Linked DNA regions of Homo sapiens: regions 2 and 3 are each linked to region 1. Evidence: promoter capture Hi-C in 16 types of primary human blood cells and fetal thymus (Javierre and others, 2016). All regions are on one chromosome and are shown on one strand. Each heading gives the region's core, a stretch centred on a gene start or on the middle of the fragment in contact. The rest is flanking DNA. Distances are from core to core; before and after follow the strand shown.

The links. Contacts are between HindIII fragments. The CHiCAGO score rates a contact against its expected background, and 5 or more counts as called.
Region 2: a fragment that was not itself captured here is called in contact with the fragment with the promoter of SIAE in region 1 in 1 of 17 cell types (total B cells); the score reaches 6.4 in total B cells.
Region 3: a contact is called between a fragment that was not itself captured here and the fragment with the promoter of SIAE in region 1, in 1 of 17 cell types (total CD8 T cells). The highest score is 5.5, in total CD8 T cells.

The regions. Positions count from the first base shown.
Region 1 is chr11:124,672,285-124,675,854 of GRCh38, forward strand. It overlaps SIAE (sialic acid acetylesterase), which reads right to left and starts at 1,455. Exons shown (of 10, transcript NM_170601.5): 1 at 1,358-1,455. The coding sequence starts at 1,424. It overlaps SPA17 (sperm autoantigenic protein 17), which reads left to right and starts at 1,620. Exons shown (of 5, transcript NM_017425.4): 1 at 1,620-1,668; 2 at 2,954-3,134. The coding sequence starts at 2,981. It overlaps LOC124902780 (a long non-coding RNA gene), which reads left to right and starts at 3,141. Exons shown (of 2, transcript XR_007062933.1): 1 at 3,141-3,278; 2 at 3,382-3,570. RefSeq lists silencers at 1,391-1,510, 1,483-1,641 and an enhancer at 1,551-1,730. The HindIII fragment of the contact is 8,074 bases long and covers 1-3,137 here.
Region 2 is chr11:124,072,159-124,075,381 of GRCh38, forward strand. No RefSeq gene overlaps it. Among named protein-coding and RNA genes, the nearest start is that of OR10G7, 32 kb to the left of the region's middle. The HindIII fragment of the contact is 348 bases long and covers 1,510-1,857 here.
Region 3 is chr11:125,626,644-125,630,053 of GRCh38, forward strand. It overlaps CHEK1 (checkpoint kinase 1), which reads left to right. Exons shown (of 13, transcript NM_001114122.3): 2 at 106-190; 3 at 964-1,187; 4 at 2,589-2,653; 5 at 2,748-2,817. The coding sequence starts at 126. Among named protein-coding and RNA genes, the nearest start is that of CHEK1, 3.2 kb to the left of the region's middle. RefSeq lists enhancers at 12-555, 116-165. The HindIII fragment of the contact is 1,976 bases long and covers 537-2,512 here.

The sequences.
Region 1 (3,570 bases), core at 205-2,704:
GGGCAGTGGTTGCCTCTGGTGAGGAGCTCCGGATGCATTGGCGAGGAGCACAATGGCAGGCTCAATAGACTGGCAATGTTCTAGTTCTTAAGTTGGGTACTGCTCTCATGGGTGTTCATTTTATTGTGTCATTGTTACATATAATTTTGTACATCTCAAGCATTACATGGTAAACATGGGCACAGGGAGAATGACTTAAAGGAAAAACGTCAGGATACGCAACCAAGTAGAGTACTAATGAATGAAAAATGTGATCAATGTTAATGAAGGTGATGTAACAATAAGACCCAAAGGAGGAGATAAAATACTGACACTAAAATAAACAGCCTTTAACTGAAAACCTAATAAAATATCTTTTCCCCACCTCATAAGATGGATCTCAAAGGTCACTGAGTGGAGATAAGAGTCAGGAAATGGCATACAGAGTGCTAGCATTTTGCACTTTTGTTAGACTCTGAACAATCATTTATGGGCTGCAGTTTGTCTGAATCTAGGTACTTTTCCGGCTCTCAGGTAGAGCAGGAGTCATTTTTCTGCACGCTGTTCTCCTACCCCAACTATCATTTCTTAACAGGGATCTCTGGGGTCCACTCTTTGAGTGTTTTGAAACAGAAAGGAAGAAATCCAACATTATCACTTTAGTTTGCATTATCAGACAGATTGCACCTTCTGCTTTCTCCATACTGTGACCCAGTGTCCAGCCTAGGGTATTCGAATGGCAAGATCTGACCTGCGCAACAGCCAAAGGGAGCCACCAGCCTCCCCTATGCCACTCACATTTTCCCACCACCAATATCTGTAAGCGGTACCAGAAATCAAAACTGAGCCTTAAATAGTCAGAGCTAGTGAGGGGGTTGTATTTCTTAGCCCTGATAACCACTTAAACGAGTAAAATTTAATTCCCCTAAGGAACCCCGCCTGAAGCAAACCCTCCCCAAGGGCACCACTGAGGGGGTAGCGCTGAAATGTTTTGGAAGATTCAGTCACCTGTTTCCAAATATTACCTAACTAGCTTCGCCTCCTTCCCTCCGAGCTCCCCTGCAGTTACTCCAGGACCCCGAAGGCCTCTTTCTGGGCACATTTGGGCCTCCCCACTCAGACAAGCCGCACTTTCTCCCTGCTCACAGGCTGCATGTCAGGGATGGTAAGTGGGGGGTGGAGAAAGTGGAGAGGCCGGGGTTCAACCCAGCAGACTCCTGCAGACCGGGCCTCGGTCGGAGACGCGAGCCCCTAGCCTAGCTAGGTTCCTTCGTCGACCTTGAGAAAGGGGCGCGGATCCGTGTCCCGCAGAGGACACGGGGTCTCGGAGCCCGCACAGGCTGAGGGGCAGGGGTCCGGCCGAGCCGGGCCGCCTCACCTGCACTTCTGTCGGCCCACAGGATTAATGGCAGCACCAGCCCGAGTACAAGCCCCGGCGCGACCATGCTTGCAAGGATCTGACCGCCGCCTAGGACTGGGAAAGTGGGTTCCCGGCAGGGGCGGGGCCTGGGCGGGGGCGAGGCCGACTCCACCCTTTTGCAGTCCTCGCAGCCTCCCGCGACCTCAGGACTGGGCTGTACTCGCCCCTTCTCGGCCGCCGTAGTTTTTTTTTTTTTTTAAAGAAAAAACGGTTACCCAGCAACTAGAAAAACAACCGGAACCGGCGGCACCAGCTCGGAGAGAAAGGAGGTGAGGCCGCTTCCCCACTTCCTCTCCGATACCAAGACCTAGCCTTTTCCCTTCGTCTCTCTTATTCTCTCAGCATCCCAGACACAGCCTCGGAGCCCTGGGCCGTTTGGGAGCCGAGGCAGCCCATTCTGCGCGAGTCTGAAATCCCAGGTCCTCAACATCCCGCCCCCGACTAGACCCGTCTGCCCCCTCCGCCCGCCCTCCTCTGCCCACATTGGTTCAGAATCTCGCCAGCTCTTTTCACCACTCTAGAATGGTTCGATACCCCCATCTACTGCTCCCTCAGAAAAAGCAAAAGAGAGGAGTCAGGCGTGGTGGCGCGCGCCTGTAATCCCAATTGCTCGGGAGGCTGAGGCGGGATCATCGCTGGAGCCCAGGAGTTCGAGGCCAGAGACCCCCTCTCAAAGAAAAAAAAAGCGATGAAACGAGAACCCTCCATAGTCTGAGCCTCATTAAACCGTCCAGTTCTCCCAACCTGGACCCCTACCACGGCCTCCGCCTCTATTCCGCATTGACGCACACTCTCACATTAACAGGCCAGGTCCCGGAGGATTCTTTTCATACTCAGTAGTAGCTCAGCCCGCTGCTTAGCAGCTACCCTTAATCTAGCCCTTGTATTTCAAGACAGAAAGAGACAACCTGATCAAGAAGAAACCGAAAAATATAAGAATTCTAAAACTTTAGAGGCTGGGATTTCAAAATCATGACACACAGCCCCATCCCATCCCATCCCTCCCTCACACACACGCACGCACAACCCCATTCCACAGTACGAAGGTGTTCGAAGCATTGTGGGTCATGCTTCAGAAGTGGCAGCAAGGGGAAAGATTGTGCAACTTCTTCATTCAACAAATTAATTTCTAGAACCAGGACTAATTTCTACTCTTTAAAAAAAAATAGACCTCAAAGAAGGTCTTCTCAGCAATTGACAATGAATTTAACTTTTTAGCAATCATTCTCTCTAAATTCCTGTGTGATAGCAAAAATTACCCTTACCTTTTGAGCATATAAAGGGTAAAGAGAGAAAAAGTCATATTGAAAATTATGGGTTTTTTGCAGGATTTTAAATGATTTGGCCTAGTGAATGGGTCTGTGTTTGTATTATACTAATTCACAATGGAGATTTCAAAACTCTTTGGAAGAAATGGATGGGCTTGGGTTGTGTTAGGGAAAAAAGAATTCAAGTCCAGATGTATGAGTCTCAGAAATAATTTGTTGGCATAGTTGTGATTATATAAGTAAAATCAGACAAATTTAAAGACAGTACTCTTTAATGAATCTTTAGGTTCCATAGGCAGTTCTTACCAAGAAGATGTCGATTCCATTCTCCAACACCCACTACCGAATTCCACAAGGATTTGGGAATCTTCTTGAAGGGCTGACACGCGAGATTCTGAGAGAGCAACCGGACAATATACCAGCTTTTGCAGCAGCCTATTTTGAGAGCCTTCTAGAGAAAAGAGAGAGTAAGCTTTCTAAAATTAGTCATTTTTTAAAATAAGAAACTAAGCATTTGTTTATGGTAAAACTTGCTTAAGACCATCTCCATTCTGCAGAAAGCCTTTTATGAGGCAGGGAGTTTCAGATAACAGTTCTTGCTCTTTGAAACAGTATGTACCTCTTTGATATGTTCTCTTAAATTCGTTTCATATTATCGAAGATTACCAGTTCATTATTCAGACCGTCTTCATTGTATTTCTCACGGACATACAGCGTGGAAGGTAACTGCAAAAGAGCATACATTTCTCGGGAGAAATCAGTGGGGGAAAAAAAGATCATACAGTCTACCCTCGCCACGTTCCAGCATACTGTTCCTATGCATCCCTGGCAGCTGACTGTTATTCCTGAGATGAGTATCTGTGGTTTCCTTTCAATTTTGATTCCTTCCATTTGAAAGTATTT
Region 2 (3,223 bases), core at 434-2,933, 600 kb before region 1:
ACTATTCTGTGACATACAGTTTGATAAAACTTACACTAAATCTGACGGAAAGGTTTGTTTGTGATGGAGAAGGAAAGAGAGAAGTGCTTGTCCTTTTGTCTTATGTAGTCCCGCAGGAATACACTGACTTATTTCTACCTTTTCCACATCTTTTCCTTTTTCTTTCTTTCTTGTTTTATTTATTTATTTATTTATTTATTTATTTATTTATTTATTTATTTTGAGACGGAGTCTCTCTCTTGTCACCCAGGCTAGAGTGCAGTGGAACGATCTCTGTTAACTACAACCTCCACCTCCCAGGTTCAAGCAATTCTCCTACCTCAGCCTCCCGAGTAGCTAGGATCACAGGCGTGCGCCACCACGCTTGGCTAAATTTTTTTGTATTTTTACTAGGGACAGGGTTTCACCGTGTTGGCCAGGCTGATCTTGATCTCCTGACCTCATGATCTGCCCGCCTCGGCCTCCCAAAATGCTGGGATTACAGGCGTGAGCCACTGCTTGCGGCCTCCTTTTTCTTTCTTCTATTTTCCCATAACTCATACATATTTTTGTTTCATTTTGCTTTACCTAAAAGATCTCTGACGTATATCTTTTCCTTTCTTCTCCAAATCAAAAACGCTAAGTAAACTTGAAACTGATAGAGGTAAGAAACAACTTACTTTCTCCTCCATTTTAATTCCTGGTTGCAAGTAAAAACATCCTATTATATTCCTCATTTTGCATTTGTTAAAATTCCTCCTGCGCTTTTCACTATTTTCAAAGTTTTAAGTTTCTTTCTGTGAAAACTTGCTTATCTCCAGATCTTAGTCTTAAGATTTTTTGCCTTTTTTATTAACAATTGCTACCAATTAGGAATCTCAGAAAAATGAAAGAGAAAAGATTTCCCCTTCCCGTAACACCATAGCAGTAAATAGCATTTGGAATTGTCAGAACCTTTTTGATAAAATGATGTAGGAAAACATTCACAAAACTATGGGCCTTGAGAAAATGTACGGTGTTGCACTTCTTTTCTTTATAATTTTTATAAAATCGTCCCCTTGAACTTTCCTTAATAATGCAAACTTTTAGGACACTCACCTTGATTGGAAAAATTGTTCTACGTCCTCTAAAATGTAATGCTTCATCTCTAAAATATGTTTTGCTATCTGGTTGTTTTAGTTAATAATATGTTACCTTAGTTTCAGTTTTTACACATAAATTTCTATTTTTCTGAAACTATAAATACTCCAAAGAATTCTTTTAGACAGAACTATTTTCCTCTTCTTGGAACTACCTTTGCAAAGATTAGAACACTAGCCGCAGCTACTCAGGAGACTGAACAGGAGAACCGGGAGCTTGAACCGGGAACCAGAGGTTGCAGTGAGCCGAGATCGCACCACTGGACTCCAGCCTGGTGACAGAGTGAGTCTCCATCTCCAAAGAAAAAGAAAAGAAAAAAAGAAAATGATGGCAGTGAAATACATCTGATCTAATGAGCCTGATGGAGGGCAGGAAAGCCCCAAAATTGAAAGCTTAATCCCAAACTTATGACCATCAGAAAAATTTTTAACAAGTAATATAAAAAGGTTTTCCTTTCACAGTGATGTAAAAATAATCTGGGAAAAGACATAAGAATATAACTATGTTCCTTTGCGTTTATAAAGCAGGGAAATAACCAAGATTATACACATATGAATGAACCATACATATGAAATAAGTGTCTTAGTTGAGATGATAGTTTAAAGTGATTGTTCATTAATGTAAACTCTTAAAGAAAAATATTTCTATTAATGGGTTAAGAATAATTTGACTTATTCATAAAATGAATTTTTATAGTCATTCAAGTTGAGGCAGCTATCTGTTACTGATGTGAGAAAAAGCTTTAGGGAATAGGAAAATTAGAGTATAGTATCATAGCTATAATGTTATTTACTTGTGTAAATTTGTGTGTGTAGCATATGCGTGTGTCTTTGGTGGAAAGATGATCACCAAATTGTTGAGTGGTTATTGCTCGATAGATTTCAGTAGATTAAAAACAATTATTGTTTGTATTTTTCTTTATTGATAGTATCTTTACAAATTCAACATTAGCACATTTCAATATAAAACATTAAATTGTTTTATCAGAAAAGGGTCACAATCCAGACCCCAAGAGAGGGTTCTTGAATCTTGTGCAAAAAACAATTCAGGACAAATACACAGAGTAAAGCAAAAGCAAGTTTATTAGGAAAGTAAAGGAATGAAAGAATGGCCACTCCATAGGCAGAGCAGGACATTCCCAAAAGCAAAAGGAAGAATTACGTCCACCTTAGGTACAATGCTTGTTTATATATAAGAAACAAAGCAAAACAATTGTGGGGAAGGTCTACTGTTAGGGGATCTTTGGGGTGTCACTTTTCTGACCGGAAACATCTGTGACCAGTGGCGCCTTTGCTTGAGATTTGGTGGGGCCCACTGGGCTCATTCTGCCTACTTGGCCTTGCAGGCTGTGCTTGGCTGACGCTACTGGCCTTGATCCCATGTCTCCCAAGGGCGAGTAAGGTGGGAGCGGTGAAGGGTATGTGAGCAAGTGTGAGGTCTGGCCACTGCACACAGTCAGACAGGCTGGTTGCTGCAGTGGGGTGGGCAGCTCCAAGTGCCGGCATGGGTGCTGGTTCTTTGCAAGGCTGTGGCCAGACCAGGTGCACTGCAAGCAGCTTCCACAGCTGGCACTGGGGACCATGGTGGTGCCTGGAAGCTTGGAGATTGCAGGGCCCCAAAGAGGGAGTCACAGCCCTGTGGGGGAGCTCCCAGGTCTGGGATCCCCAAAGGGCCACAGCTCTTCTTTCCTTCTCTTCACCTGCAATGTAGGGAGCAAGCAAGGGGCATGTCTCAGCCCTGTTTGTGTTACAGCTCTTTTAGCTTTGCCATTCGTTGGGTCACGAGTTCTTGTCCTGTGACTAGGAAAAGTGAGTTATGCAGACAAGTGGAGGGTGAGTAAGAGGAAGAAGAGCTTTATTGAGCTATAGAACAGCTCAGAGGGGACCTGCAGTGGGGAGCTTCTTTCTGCAGCCGGAGTGTCCTGACAAGTGTTCAGCTCCTAGGGAGCGGGTAGTTCCTCTCTGCTAGAGGTCATCTCAACAAGTGTTGAGGGTAGCTCCTCTCTGCTGCGGGTCCTCCCATTGTCTGCAGCTCTAAGCAGAGAAGAGGCCCTAGAGTGGTGGCTCCTCTCTGCAGCAGGTCATCCCATTGCCTCTGCAGCTCT
Region 3 (3,410 bases), core at 275-2,774, 950 kb after region 1:
CAAGAGCTGTTAATTTTCGTGGGCAATCCTGGGGAGAGGCGGGGCTCAGTGGCTTCACTGGTGATCTTACACTCTACATCTTTTCTGGATTCCTGCCTTTTACAGCCGAGGTGCTCGGTGGAGTCATGGCAGTGCCCTTTGTGGAAGACTGGGACTTGGTGCAAACCCTGGGAGAAGGTGCCTATGGAGAGTGAGTTCTTTTAAGCTTGCCTTCGTTTTCTGAGTGCATATTCATTGTTTTGGAGTCTCACACTCTGGTGATTTAGAAAGTAGATGTTTGAGATCCAAGGGTTTTGGCAACTGAAGTTACACAGCCTTTTGCTAGGATTAAAAATTTTTTCCTTCCCTTTAAAAAAAAAAGTTTTCTTTGTAGAGAGCTGGAAGGGACACGAAGTTATTGTTTCCATGCCCACAAATTGCTTCTCAGGGTTTAAGCATTGCGGTTAATGAGCAAATGAGCAGACTCTGGAGATTGCCTGCCTGGTTTCAGATCCTTGCTCTATCACATACTGGTCATTGTTTTGTGATCTTAGGCAAGCTTCTTAATGTCATTGTGTACCTCTCCTTCACTACCTTTAGGGTGGCAATAATCGCATCTACCCCATAGGAGCTTAGGACAGTCAGTTACACAAGCACATATAGTATGGGATTAATGCTCTTAAAAGTATATGAGTAGAACATGTATATATGTGATGTGGCTTAGAATTATCTCAATCTATTTTATGAAGCGTTTATTAAATGACTTGTGTGACAGCATAATGACGTCTTTGGAGGGTTAGCTATTGTATTTCACATTTTAGAAAAGAGTAGTGTGTGTTGAGAACATAGCAGAAACCACTTCCTTGGTTTCTCCTTTGTGGAAAAAGTAATAGAGGTAAAATCGTTTTGGATGAGTCATGTTTAATCTTTGGAAGTTTTAGAAGAAATGGAATTCTGTAATGTTAAAACTCTTTTCCTTTTTAGAGTTCAACTTGCTGTGAATAGAGTAACTGAAGAAGCAGTCGCAGTGAAGATTGTAGATATGAAGCGTGCCGTAGACTGTCCAGAAAATATTAAGAAAGAGATCTGTATCAATAAAATGCTAAATCATGAAAATGTAGTAAAATTCTATGGTCACAGGAGAGAAGGCAATATCCAATATTTATTTCTGGAGTACTGTAGTGGAGGAGAGCTTTTTGACAGAATAGGTATGGAAGAAATTTAAGATAATTATTTTAAACAAGTTTTTAAATTTGTTTTTTAAATCTTGGGCATGCTATTTGGTCGTTGTCCTTTCAAAATTGCTCATGCAACTGTGAAATTGGAATACATTATCTTTAAAAAATTTTTCCACCTGGTGTTAATAACATAAAAGCATATATAGAGTCAATGAAAGAAAACTTCTTTCCCAAGTTATATAAGTGATTTTGATTTAAGATTGGTGTCTTACAGAATTTAAGAGTGACAAACAAGTTTTATGGTACATCATAAATGCAGTGTATCCTAAATGCAATGTATTGCCTACACAATTTTTTCTTTGTAGACATTCTAGTTACATGAAATCATTGTATACATTTTATACATTTACAGATCTAAAATAGCATGCTGTTTCCTCTTGGTTTACATGAAATAATTGAGAATTTTCTAGGATTGCTTTTTGTATATTAAGTAAATTCTATGTTTGCTATTAATACTTAAATATTCGATGTAGAATCAAAGGATTGATATTTCAGAACACTGAGAAGTACATAAAATCTGGATCTAAATTTATAATTTAAATTTATAATTTAAAGCTATTGTATTAAATAAGTTTATCAGTTAAAAACTGATAAAGAGGTATTAGGATCTCCAGTGTGACTCAGGAGAGAGTTGAGGGTAAAAGAAATGGAGTTAATGAGAGAGATCAAAATATAAAAAGATAACTGATAAAAGAACTTTCATAATAAAACTGTTTCACGAAGGACCTCACAGGCATTTGTGGTTTTGTACTGTGAGACTATATGAAGTTTAAATCTGAGCCAGGTGTGGTGGTACATGCCTGCAATCCTAGCTACTTAGGAGGCAGGAGGATTGCTTGAGCTCAAGAGTTCCAGGTTACAGTAAGTTATGATCTCACGCCAGGGCACTCCAGCCTGGGTGAAAGAACAAGACCGTATCTCTAAAAAAAGTTAAATTATAAAAGAAGTATAATCTGTAAAATATTTAGTGAAATTGGCTTAGATTTGCCCAGACTTCCCCTTTGGCATTATATTTCAGGAATGAGAAAAATAATTAGCATAGCATTTAGAAGAAATGGGGGGAATTTCAAGGTTACTAAATAAATCAGGGTTAGTATAAGAGGAAGCAGAGGCTTTGAAGTCATGGCTTGCATTCTTGATTTGGATATTGGTTTTCTCTTTATAATTTTTCTGTGATGACGCCTTTTGCCACCTAACACAGGTAAATGTGAGTTAAGCCCCATATGTGTTAGTGGACTCCTGAATCTTTTGTTGGCATTTGCTTCTGTTTGCCTAAGCACATTTGTAAATGTCTAAGCTTCAAATTAAGAAGCTATGTGGTTGCTACCTGATTATATTTAGTCAATAAACTTACTTTCATATTTGTTTTAGAGCCAGACATAGGCATGCCTGAACCAGATGCTCAGAGATTCTTCCATCAACTCATGGCAGGGGTGGTAGGTATAGTTGTCTATTTCCCTTTTACTTAAAATTAGAGTGAATACATTACATTACCAAATTCTAGTGTGTTTCTCTCTGCATCCCTCTTAGGTTTATCTGCATGGTATTGGAATAACTCACAGGGATATTAAACCAGAAAATCTTCTGTTGGATGAAAGGGGTAAGTTTAGCATTTTATCACTACCTAAAATAAAATAAAATAATTACCTAAATTATTTTAATTACCTAATTATTTTAATATAGCCATACAAGGCAAAATCAAGTCTTTTTGCATTACTGGAATTTCAAGACAAGATCTGAAAAATCAAGGAAATTTTGGAGACTTCGTATATTTGGAAATCACAAGTCTCATTTTGCAATACAAGTGCGGATCAGGTAGAGAAATCTGACCTAGGTGCAAGCCTAGCTCACTATATGTATAAGAATAATTTTTTTTTTTTTGATACAGGCTCACTGTGTTGTCCAGTCTGGGGTGCACTGTATTATCACAGTTCACTGCAGCCTTGACCTCCTAGGCTCAAGCAATCCTACCATCTCAGCTTCCCGAGTAGCTAGGACCAACCACAGGCAGGTGCCACCATGCCTGGCTAATTTTTGATTTTTTGAAGAGGTGGAGTCTTCCTGTGTTGCTCAGGCTAGTCTTGAACTCCTGGACTCAAGCAGTTTACCAGCCTTAGCCTCCCAGAGTGTTGGGATTATAGACGTGAGCCACCATGCCTGGCCAAGAATAGTTTAAAATAATCCTTTAATGGA